Regions from separate parts of the Homo sapiens genome. Here region 1 is linked to region 2. Evidence: promoter capture Hi-C in human tissues and cell types (Jung and others, 2019). All regions are on one chromosome and are shown on one strand. Each heading gives the region's core, a stretch centred on a gene start or on the middle of the fragment in contact. The rest is flanking DNA. Distances are from core to core; before and after follow the strand shown.

Region 1 (5,274 bases), core at 467-2,966, 960 kb after region 2:
CCCTAGGAAAGAAGAGGAGGAGGATCTTTTCCCATAGATCCTCATATTCTCCCTCTCTAAGCTTCACACTCAGAGCCTGGGGAGGAGTAAGAGAAAGCGGTGGTGGTGAAGAGCAGCCTGTCAAGATGTGGGAGTGATGTTTCCATGCATGGTGATGGCAGGGCAAAGTCCCTAAGCCTGCCCCCACTCCTCATGGGATTATTTCTTGTGGAAAAAGGCAGTACCACGAAGATAATCTCCTTTTTCTCTCCTTGTCCCCTTCCTGGATATCCTCATTTAACTCTAGAAAGCCAAGAGTATCTTTCTTTTAAAAAAAGATCTGAAATACTGAAAAAAAGCAAGAAAGAAAAGATTCTAAATGTCCATCAAGAGAGGAAGAGTCAAGAAGATCATGTTGCATTCATTAGCTATGATAATATGTAGCAGTTATAAGTGACATTTATCATGTTTCTAAAATGGAGAAGTGCAGTCTGCGAGGTCTTCCCTAGAGAATTATCACAATCCTACGAAAACTCTGTATGAGGAAAATGCTTCATAGAAATGTAACTGAATATTAACCACAGATTGTCTGAAAAGTAAGACTATTGGTGATAATTTTTCTCTACTTTCTATGTTACTTGAGTTTTCAATTTTTTAATAATTCATATAAATTCCCCAAACAGAAAAAGTAAACTTTTTAAAAAAAATATTCTTCTCCAAACAGTGACAACTTTTAGAGAAAATAGTGTAGGGTAGCAGTGGTTGAGACTCAGGCTCAAATAGACTTGAGTTTGAATCCCAGCTTTGCTGTCTTACCAGCAGTGCAACAGGGTTAATTGTTTTATACCTCTGTGCCTCCATTTCTTCTTTTGTACAGTGTGAGTAATAATATCTACTTGACATTGTCATTGTGAGGATTCAGTGGGATAAAGTATAAAAAGTACTTTTCCTGGCTGGGCACAATGGCTCATGCCTGTAATCCCAGCACTTTGGGAGTCCAAGGCGGGCGGATCACGAGGTCAGGAGATCGAGACCATCCTGGCTAAAATGGTGAAACCCCATCTCTACTAAAAATACAAAAAACTAGCCAGGTGTGGTGGTGGGCACCTGTAGTCCCAGCTACTTGAGAGGCTGAGGCAGGAGAATGGCATGAACCCAGGAGGTGGAGTTTGCAGTGAGCCAGGATTGCACCACTGCACTCCAGCCTGGGCGAGAGTGAGACTCCGTCTCAAAAAAAAAAAAAAAAAAAGTACTTTTCCCAACACCTGGTACATAGAGGGTGCTTCATCAGTGTTAACTATTTTACTCTTGTCATTGCTGCTATTGTTGCTAAGTCACCTGAAGTCCACTGCATGAGCTGATGGTTAGGACTGCATACACATAGATTAACAACTTAAATGTAAGACTTAAAACTGTAAACTACTAGAAGAAAATATAGGGGGAGAAATCTTCACATTGGTCTTGGCAAAGATTTTTTGGGTATCACTCCCAAAGTACAAACAGAAAAAGCAAAAATGGGCAATGGGATTGCCTTGAAAAAAAATCAACAAGTGAAGAGAAAACCTACGGAATAGAAAAAAAAAGTTTGCAAACCATATGTCTCATAAGAAGCTAAATCCAAAACATATATAAGGAACTCGTACAACTCAACAGCTATAAAACAAATAACCTAATTTTATGTATTTATTTACACATTTATTTTGGGACAGGGTCTTACTCTGTCACCCAGGCTGGAGTGCTGTGGTGTGATCACAGCACACTGCAGCCTCAACCTCCAAGCTCAAGCAATCCTCTTGTTTCAGCCTCCCAAGTAGCTGGGACTACAAGAGTAAGCCGCCAAGCCCAGCTAAATTTTTATTTTTTATTTTTTGTAGAGACAGAGTCTCACTATGTTGCCCAGGCAGGTCTCTTACCCCTGGGCTCAAGCTATCAATTCTGCCTTGGCCTCCCAAAGTGCTGGGATTACAGGTGTGAGCCTCCATGCCTGACTGCCTGATTTTAAAACAGGCGAAAGACCTGAATAGACATTTATCAAAAGATGATATACAAAAGGCCAACAGGTATATGAAATGGTGCTCAACATTACTGACCATCAGTACAACATTACTGACCATTAATACCACAATGGGATATCACCTCATACCAGTAAGAATGGCTTTTACCAAAAAGAGAAAAGATAACAAACATTGGCAAGGATATGGAGAAAAGGAAACCCTTGTGTACTATTGATGGGAATGTAAATTAGTACAGCCAGTATGGAAAAAAGTAAGATCCCTAAAAAACTAAAAATAGAACTACCAAGTGATTCAGCAATCCCACTTCTGGGTATATACCCAAAGGAAGAGAAATCAGTATGTTGAAGAGATAACTGTATATCCACTTTCACTGTGGTATTATTCACAATAGCTAAAACATGGAATCAACCTACATGTCCACAAATGGATGAATGGATCAAGAAAATGTGGTATGTATACACAATGGAACACTACTCAGCCTTAAAAAAGAAGGAAATTCTGTCATTTATGGCAATATGGATTAACCTAGAGGACATGATGTTAAGTAAAATAAGCCAGGCACAGAAATACAAATACCACATGATCTCACTTATATGTGAAATCTAAAAAAGTCAAATTCAGAGAAGCAGAGAGTAGGATGATAATTACCACTGACTGGAGGGTGGGGGTTTGGGGAGATGCTGGTCAAAAAGTACAAGTTTCAGTTAAATAGGAGGAATAAGTTTTAGAGATCTGTTGTACAGCATGGTGACTATAGTTAATTATTGTTACTTGAAAATTGCTAGGAGAGTAGATTTTAAATATTCTCATTACAGGCTGGGCGCGGTGGCTCACGCCTGTAATCCCAGCACTTTGGGAGGCCGGGATGGGCGGATCACGAGATCAGGAGATTGAGACCATCCTGGCTAACACGGTGAAACCCCGTCTCTACTAAAAAAAAATACAAAAAAATTAGCTGGGCGTAGTGGCGGGCGCCTGTAGTCCCAGCTACTTGGGAGGCTGAGGCAGGAGAATGGCATGAACCTGGGAGGCGAAGCTTGCAGTGAGCCGAGATCGCGCCACCGCACTCCAGCCTGGGCAACAGAGCGAGACTCCGTCTCAAAAAAAAAAAAAAAAGAAAAAAATTCTCATTACACAAATGATAAGGATGTCAGGTGATGGATATGGTAATTAGCTTGATTTAGTCATTTCATAATAGATACCTATATCGAAATAGCATGTTGTATACCACAAACATACATACTTTTTATTTGTCAATTTTAAAAAGTTGTTTACGTAGATGGAATCAAACAGTCAAAAACAAAAACACAAGAATACATAGAGAACAGTCAAGGTCCTGCCTCTGGATGGGCTGGTCCCTAAGGATACTAAATGAAGATGGCAGTGCTGGAGGGAGTCTTGAGCTTTTCAGTTGCTGAAAAGCTACCGGCTGGTCTGCAGTGAAAGAAGTTCCTATGGAAAAGACCAGAAGAGTCACTGCAGCTGAATGAGCCACCATTTGGCTTCACTGTGAGATTTCCTGGCTCTAGACCTTCCCGAGACAGATCTACACTTTCTTGGGGGCTCACTGTGTATAAACTTTCCTGAGGAGAAAGACTCTAATTGGTTTCCAGACTCATATGTATTCTTTTGGTTGGAACCTAAATTCTTACATTACAAGGAATGTTTCTACTACCAAAAGCATTTATTAATACATGAGAGAGACTGAACAAGGTAACAATAGAATTCCAAATAGCAATCAAGTTTCTCTGAAAAATATGACTATTTTATGTCCAAGAAGTTCTGTTAGCTCCTTGGCATTGATGTGATTTGGAAAATATCACTAATTTTTCTGAAGTGACAGATTTCCTTAGCCAAATGAATGGATTCCTTTTATCCAGGTCCTTAGAATCCTATCTCAGCAGCTTCCAGTCCACCCCTCTGGCCTGAAAATTGTATTGTTCATTACAGACAGTCTTGGACTATCAGTTGCAGAGAAAATACTCCATACAGAAGCCCCTTACTGCTGCTTACAGACCTTAAATATGAAACTGGTATCCAGAGTGAAAATGAAATCAGAGGACTTCTACCAGTAAAGCACCTTAGCAATGCCTGCGGAGTCCTCTGGGACTGAAAGTTACTGTTTGCAAGCTATGTTGATGATATACTTTTGGTTTAAAATAACCTTGAGTCCACAGAGCCCAGTGTTTGCTGCCATTTTTTAAGCTTGATGGTGAAAGGATCTGTTCAAATTAGCATGCCTTCCTTCAGAGGTGTCCAGGACACTTTGTGTCTATGTCAACCAGTGGCATCTCTTACACATCATTAGCTTGGTCAATCCCTGTAGAGAAACTGAGGGATCTCAGTACAAAGAACAAGAACTGGATATATTAACTCCTTATTTTGTGTTACCATGTGGTAGCCTTTCCTAATACGTACTCCCCATCACTTTCAGCCATTCCCAGTGCTGATGGAATAAATGTTTTTGAAGAGTAGAATCAGTTTTATGGAGTGCATGTTTTAATGAATACAGTAATGTGTTTACCTCCCAATTTATCTTCTACATTTTGGCCATAAAATTTAACTGTATCTGAAGGATAATTTAATAGTTCTGTAAAGAAAGGCAGCTTATAGCATGAAAAGCTTATAGCTTTTCCAAGTAAGAGGAAAAATTTAAGCTGGAGGTGGTTTTAAAAATCTTTCTAATATCCCTTACAAGAAATACCATCCTATCCATGCCCAGGGTCTTTGAGATTTGTAGATGGGAAATACTCCTAGTATTGGATGATTCCATTTCCACAAGGACTGGAACGTGTCAGAAGCACAATGAATGCCCTTTTTTTTTCTTAACTTTCTTTCCAACTTTATCATTATCATTGTCATCACTGTTAGGTTACGCACTGGTTTTGCCTAAAGCAACAAACCATCAAAAATTCACAGCCTTCAAGGCCGTCCCTAAGTTATCGGCACACATAGAATAAATCTTATATTAACATTATTGCATATTTCTATCAGACTATGACTATCCAGTGATCTGACCAACTCCCTCCACCTTTGTAAGCAGAAAAGCTCCATCGATTTCCCCCAGACAAATGGAAATATTACTTGGAGAATTTCAACCCCAGTGTTGCTTCTGCCTGAACTAACAAGAAGATTTCATCCTACATTGCATTCAGTCTTGCCTCCAGCTGTGAGAAATTCTGCCACGCTGGAATACGGACTTAGATGTGATACACAGTGGGCCATGAGTGATGTGCACCAGCCAGCAGAGGGACATTTTTCTAGGCAATGCTGTGGACTC
Region 2 (4,851 bases), core at 276-2,775:
CAAAATTAGACACTGCTAACATACAGATCTATAAGCCTTCATTCAATTACAACGTATTTCAGATCCTGGCACTGTCACTGCATTGCAGATCTGTAAGACTAACCTAAAATGTACTCAAAACACTGACAATTACATTTTGTTTAGCCACCTGGAAATTCCCCGGTGTTCAAGGATGCAAAGAGACTTCGTAGAACACAAGAGCATTTTAAACGGCTCAGAACGAATCTTTTGAAAAAGCCACATTCTACTATCTTTAAAACTGAGCACTGAGATCAATAGAAAAGTCTAACTACAGACACGAGCAACATCACGTGGAAAATGTCTGCCCTAGGAATTTTTACTGCCTTGACGAGGCCAGCGACTAGATGAGGTCTCTCCGAAAGCTCTTCAGCAGTTTTCCCCTGTCCACCCTTTCGCCTCCTCCCCGTGGAGAGCTCGTGGAAAGACGCGCGAGAGGGGGCCGGGTGTACAGGACTAGCACTTGCAGGCGGAAGACCAGGGCCACAACATGGCAGCAGGAACCTCCGCCCCGTTTTTCCCTTCCTGGGAACAAAAGAGCGGAGCATTCCTCCCACCCAGGCGCAAGTTAGGGAAGTGCTTCCGACAACCTCCCCGCGAGGCCCGGGTCGCTCGACGGGGAGGAGCAGCTGAGGCCACCCCCGCCAGCCCGGCGCCCAGCTCTTTGTTCTCCAAGCAGGAAGGCGGCCTCCTGCCCACCCGCCGCCTCCAAGCGGGCCCCCTCCTGCACCATAAATCCCCCCGGGACTGACAACCGCCTCGCCACGGCCTCCTCTGCTGACAAAAGGGGCAGAAATCATCACTCTCTCTTTCCTCCCCGACGAAGGGCAGCCCCTGCCGACTCCAGGTCCTACACACCTCCCCGCCGGGAGGCCAGGCTCCGGGACGCCTGCGGTTCCCTGGTCCCGCGCCAACGGCCTGGCCTTCCCTGCCGGCCCGCGTGCCTCCCGCCACGGCGCTAGCGGTCCGAGCCACGCTCCCTCGCCGTCCGAGCACAGCCGTGCCTCGGTCCGCCACGGCCTCGTCCCTGCAGGCGTCGGCCATCCGGCCATGACCGCACGGCGGCCTGGCCAACACTGACGTTTTCCTTCTACTCCGTCAGCAACAGGAAGAGAGAACAAAAGCCAAGACTTTCCAGGTATCTGAAGCGCAGAGGAAATGCTAAAAAAGGGTCGCCCCACCCGGCTCCGCCTGCGGCCGCCATTTTGTACCACTCGAGAAGAAGCGACCAGGGACGGCGGCCATTTTAGAGCGCTCCACTCGGCGGCGGCAGCGGCTCAACTCACCTTCACCGAGAACTCAGCAGCTGCCACCGCAGCTGCCTCCTCAGGATCCGGTCGTCGGGGATAGGGAAGGGAGGGGAAAGGGGAACGGAAAACAAAAAAAAGGGGGAGGGAAGGGGGAGGAAGGAGTCGGGGACGGCCTCAAACTCAGCTCAGAGGAGTCGCTGCTGCAGCCGCCACTCGGTACCCGCTGCCACCTCCATAGAGCTCCGACTCACTGCTGGCGCTAAGGCGTGTCTGAAGCCGAACTTATCACTCTTGGGGCAGCCGAACCCACCAGAGTCTCCCCGAATGGCTCCTTCGCCGCCCAATCAGCGGCCCGGTTGCCGTCTGCCACCAATCCGCGCAGGGCAGCGAGGAGGAGCCACAGGGCTGAGCTCGGTTGCGGCGCAGCCCCGCCGCAGTGCGCAAAGCCATATTCGCGAAGTCTCTGAGGCTGAGCCAGTGGCGTAAGGGGCGCCGAGCGCTGTCGAGATGAGGGTTGCGTGCGTAAAGCCGGAGAGCCCTTTTGAGTCTGCGTTGGCGTGGCTGCTGCTTCTTGCTCCAGTCCCTTTGTTCACTGAGTCCATATGCCATGCTCCAGTTGTATCATCCCCTTTTCCCTCGACCTCGTTTTCTCACCGGGAATATGGGAAGAAAACGCACCCTTACCTCCCCCGAACCCTGTGCGTGGCGAGTGAGCATTGCTTTTCTTGGCGCCCCTTGGAGCTGTGGCTGCCCTCGCGTGCCTGGCCTCTCCCGGGGCTGAGCCCTTCGGGTTGAGGCCTGGAGCCCCCGGGCGCAGCGCCGGGACACTACCCGGCTCCAGGTCCTCGGCTTCGGCAGCCTTAGGGAACCCAGAAAGTAGTGGGGAGGAGGCGAGACGTGCGCCCGGATGCCAAAGGGGAGCTTCATTCAGCTCCTTATTGGCCCACCCCCTGCAGAGTGAATGAGAAAGTGATGAAAGGAAGGGGTTGATTTTCTTCGAACCGCACAGAAGAAGCTGCTTTTCCCATAGGAATGTCCGGCTGGCGGTCACCGAGGAAAACACCCTGTGTGTCAGACTTCCGCGGGTGTTTGGAGGATTTCGAATTGCTAGCTCCTGTTTTTTTTTGTTTTTTGTTTGTTTAAGTGCACGTTAAACATTGTCAGTTGTGTATTTTCATTTTATTTAAGGTTCACCATAAGAAATAGGATTAAGCTTTTCAAAGCCGGCAAGTTGAACTATTTATACTTACCAGGTAATGTATTGATGAGTACCTTATTCCATCGTTTGCGACATTGTAGCTATACTAAAATGGAGTCATACTTCCATAAACTTAAACAACAAAAATGTCCCCATCTCCATTTTAACATGTAGTACTTTTACAGTGTATAGTCAAAGGCAAGAATGTGTGTGTTTTAACATGAATGACTTTTAAAGTGTTCAGTAAGAGGCAGGATTTTCAAAGACCCAAACTTAACCTTTGATGTGTCAAAACAGCTCTTGGTATTAGAGCACCTGGTCCTTAATACAATTTTCCGGAAAATTGCAGTTTTTCCTACGACATTTAAATGTAATAGAAGGCTGTGGTGTGGCTCTGAAGGTTTTTAACACAATTCCAACATCTGTAGATCTTTGCTATAGAATAGTCACCATTCCCTACTTTACTGTTACTACACTTATTGCTATTACATCAATTTTACTTGAACTTTAAAACTTGGAAGAGATATTCTAAAAAAAAAAAAAAACTATTTTGGGGTGGTGGTGGTGGTGCAAGTTTTGTTTTAAATACAAGAGGTTTCACTTTGTATTTCTTTGGACCCTTCTAGCTTCATGATAACACGAGAATAATGTTTCTTTATAATTTCTGTAGGGCTTTAAGGTTTGGAAAAATGCATTAGTATATGTGATATTTTTACATAACTGGTTTACATTCCATTTATCTGATAATGAACGAATACATTAGTTTACTAAGAAGAGTAGTATTCAAAAACTATTGTCTAGACTTCAAAGAGAATATTCACCTAGCCGTAAAAGTCGGATGTTCTTATAATTAAGACACTTAAAATTCAGTAATTAAAAATTTAAAAAAGGTTTTACTTAATATTTTATTTAATCTTTGCTAATTGGGAACCCTTTTGGTATGGGCTTTGCAGATATGAGTTTATGTGAGAAATTGACCTGGAAGGGAATAACCTAAGGTAGAAAAAGTAAAAATATTGATAAAACAATCTTTCAATTACCTTTCTCTCACTTAAATAGAAAGATTTGAAGTTGAAATCGTACCTGCAAAGCCCATTGCAGAAGGGTTCACAATTAGCAAAGATTAAATAAAAACATTAAGTAAAACCTTTAGAAAAAAAAATTTTTTTTTGAGACAGAGTCTCACTTTGTCACTCAGGCTGGAGTGTAGTGGTGTGATCTCTGCACACTGCAGCCTCCACCTCCTGGGTTCAAGCAGTTCTCGTGCCTCAGCCTCCTGAGTAGCTGGGATTACAAGCATGTGCCACCACGCCCAGCTAATTTTTGTATTTCTACTTGAGATGGGGTTTCACCATGTTGCCCAGACTGGTCTCAAACTCCTGACCTCAAGTGATCCACCCGTCTGGGCCTCCCAAAATACTGGGATTACAGGTGTGAGCCACTGTGCCCAGTGTAAAAAATTTTTAATTATTGAATTTTAAGTGTCTTAATTATAAGAACATCTAGCTTTTAGGGCTAGATGAATATACTCTTTGAAGTCTAGACAATAGTTTTTTTTCAAATCGAAATATATTTAAGTGAGGGAAATAAACATTGAAACTTTCTAAATGTTTCCATCACGTCATGGATATATGAAAATTCAGCAGCACTTTTGGAGGCCAAGCTGGGAGGATTCTTTGAGCCCAGGAGTTGGAGACCAATCTGGGCAACATAGGGAGACCCCCCCATCTCTAAAATTAAAAATTAATCCAGATGTGGTGACATGCATCTGTAGTCCCAGCTACTTGGGAGGCTGACATGGGCGAATCCCTTAAGCCCAGGACTTTGAGGCTGCACTAAGCCATGGTCACGCCACTGCACTCCAGCCAGGGCAGTAGAGTGAGATCCTGTCTCAAAAAAAATAAAATGCTAGGCATGGTGGCTGATGCCTGCAATCCCAGCTCTTTTGGAGACTGAAGCAGGTGGGTAGCTTGAGCTCAGGAGTTTGAGACTAGCCTGGGCAACGTGGTGAAAACCTGTCTCTACAAAAAATACAAAAATTAGCCTGTGTCCCACATGCCTGTAGTACCAGCTACTTGGGAGGCTGAGGCAGTAGGATGGCTTGAGCCCTGGAGGTCGAGGCTGAAGTGAGCCATGATCATGTCACTGCACTCCAGCCTGGGTAACAGAGCGAAATCCTATCTTAAACACACACACACACACAGAGTCATTGTCTGGAATTTAGCTTTTAGTTCATTGAAAATTGAATTTTAAATATACCCACTTAAGTCTGCTAGTTTTCCACTGCTAGTTTTATCAGTTTTCTCTAAGTCCTGACTAACTTGTTAACTCATATATTTTTGCCTTATTTTAACTAATCATGTCAAGTGCTGGTTACTATTCTAA

The links. The method cuts DNA at HindIII sites, captures the fragments that hold promoters and counts their contacts. A contact is called where the count stands out against the background at its distance.
Region 1: a fragment that was not itself captured here is called in contact with the fragment with the promoter of EIF4G2 in region 2 in 1 of the 25 tissues and cell types used here (dorsolateral prefrontal cortex).

Annotation. Positions count from the first base shown.
Region 1 is chr11:11,764,155-11,769,428 of GRCh38, forward strand. No RefSeq gene overlaps it. Among named protein-coding and RNA genes, the nearest start is that of MIR8070, 16 kb to the right of the region's middle. The HindIII fragment of the contact is 3,796 bases long and covers 1-3,614 here.
Region 2 is chr11:10,807,401-10,812,251 of GRCh38, forward strand. EIF4G2 (eukaryotic translation initiation factor 4 gamma 2) reads right to left here and starts at 1,526. Exons shown (of 22, transcript NM_001418.4): 1 at 1,305-1,526. LOC101928053 (a long non-coding RNA gene) reads left to right here and starts at 1,897. Exons shown (of 3, transcript NR_120540.1): 1 at 1,897-1,966; 2 at 2,457-2,521. RefSeq lists enhancers at 299-378, 1,109-1,368, 1,879-1,928, 2,004-2,610 and a silencer at 1,649-1,698. The HindIII fragment of the contact is 7,870 bases long and covers 1-4,851 here.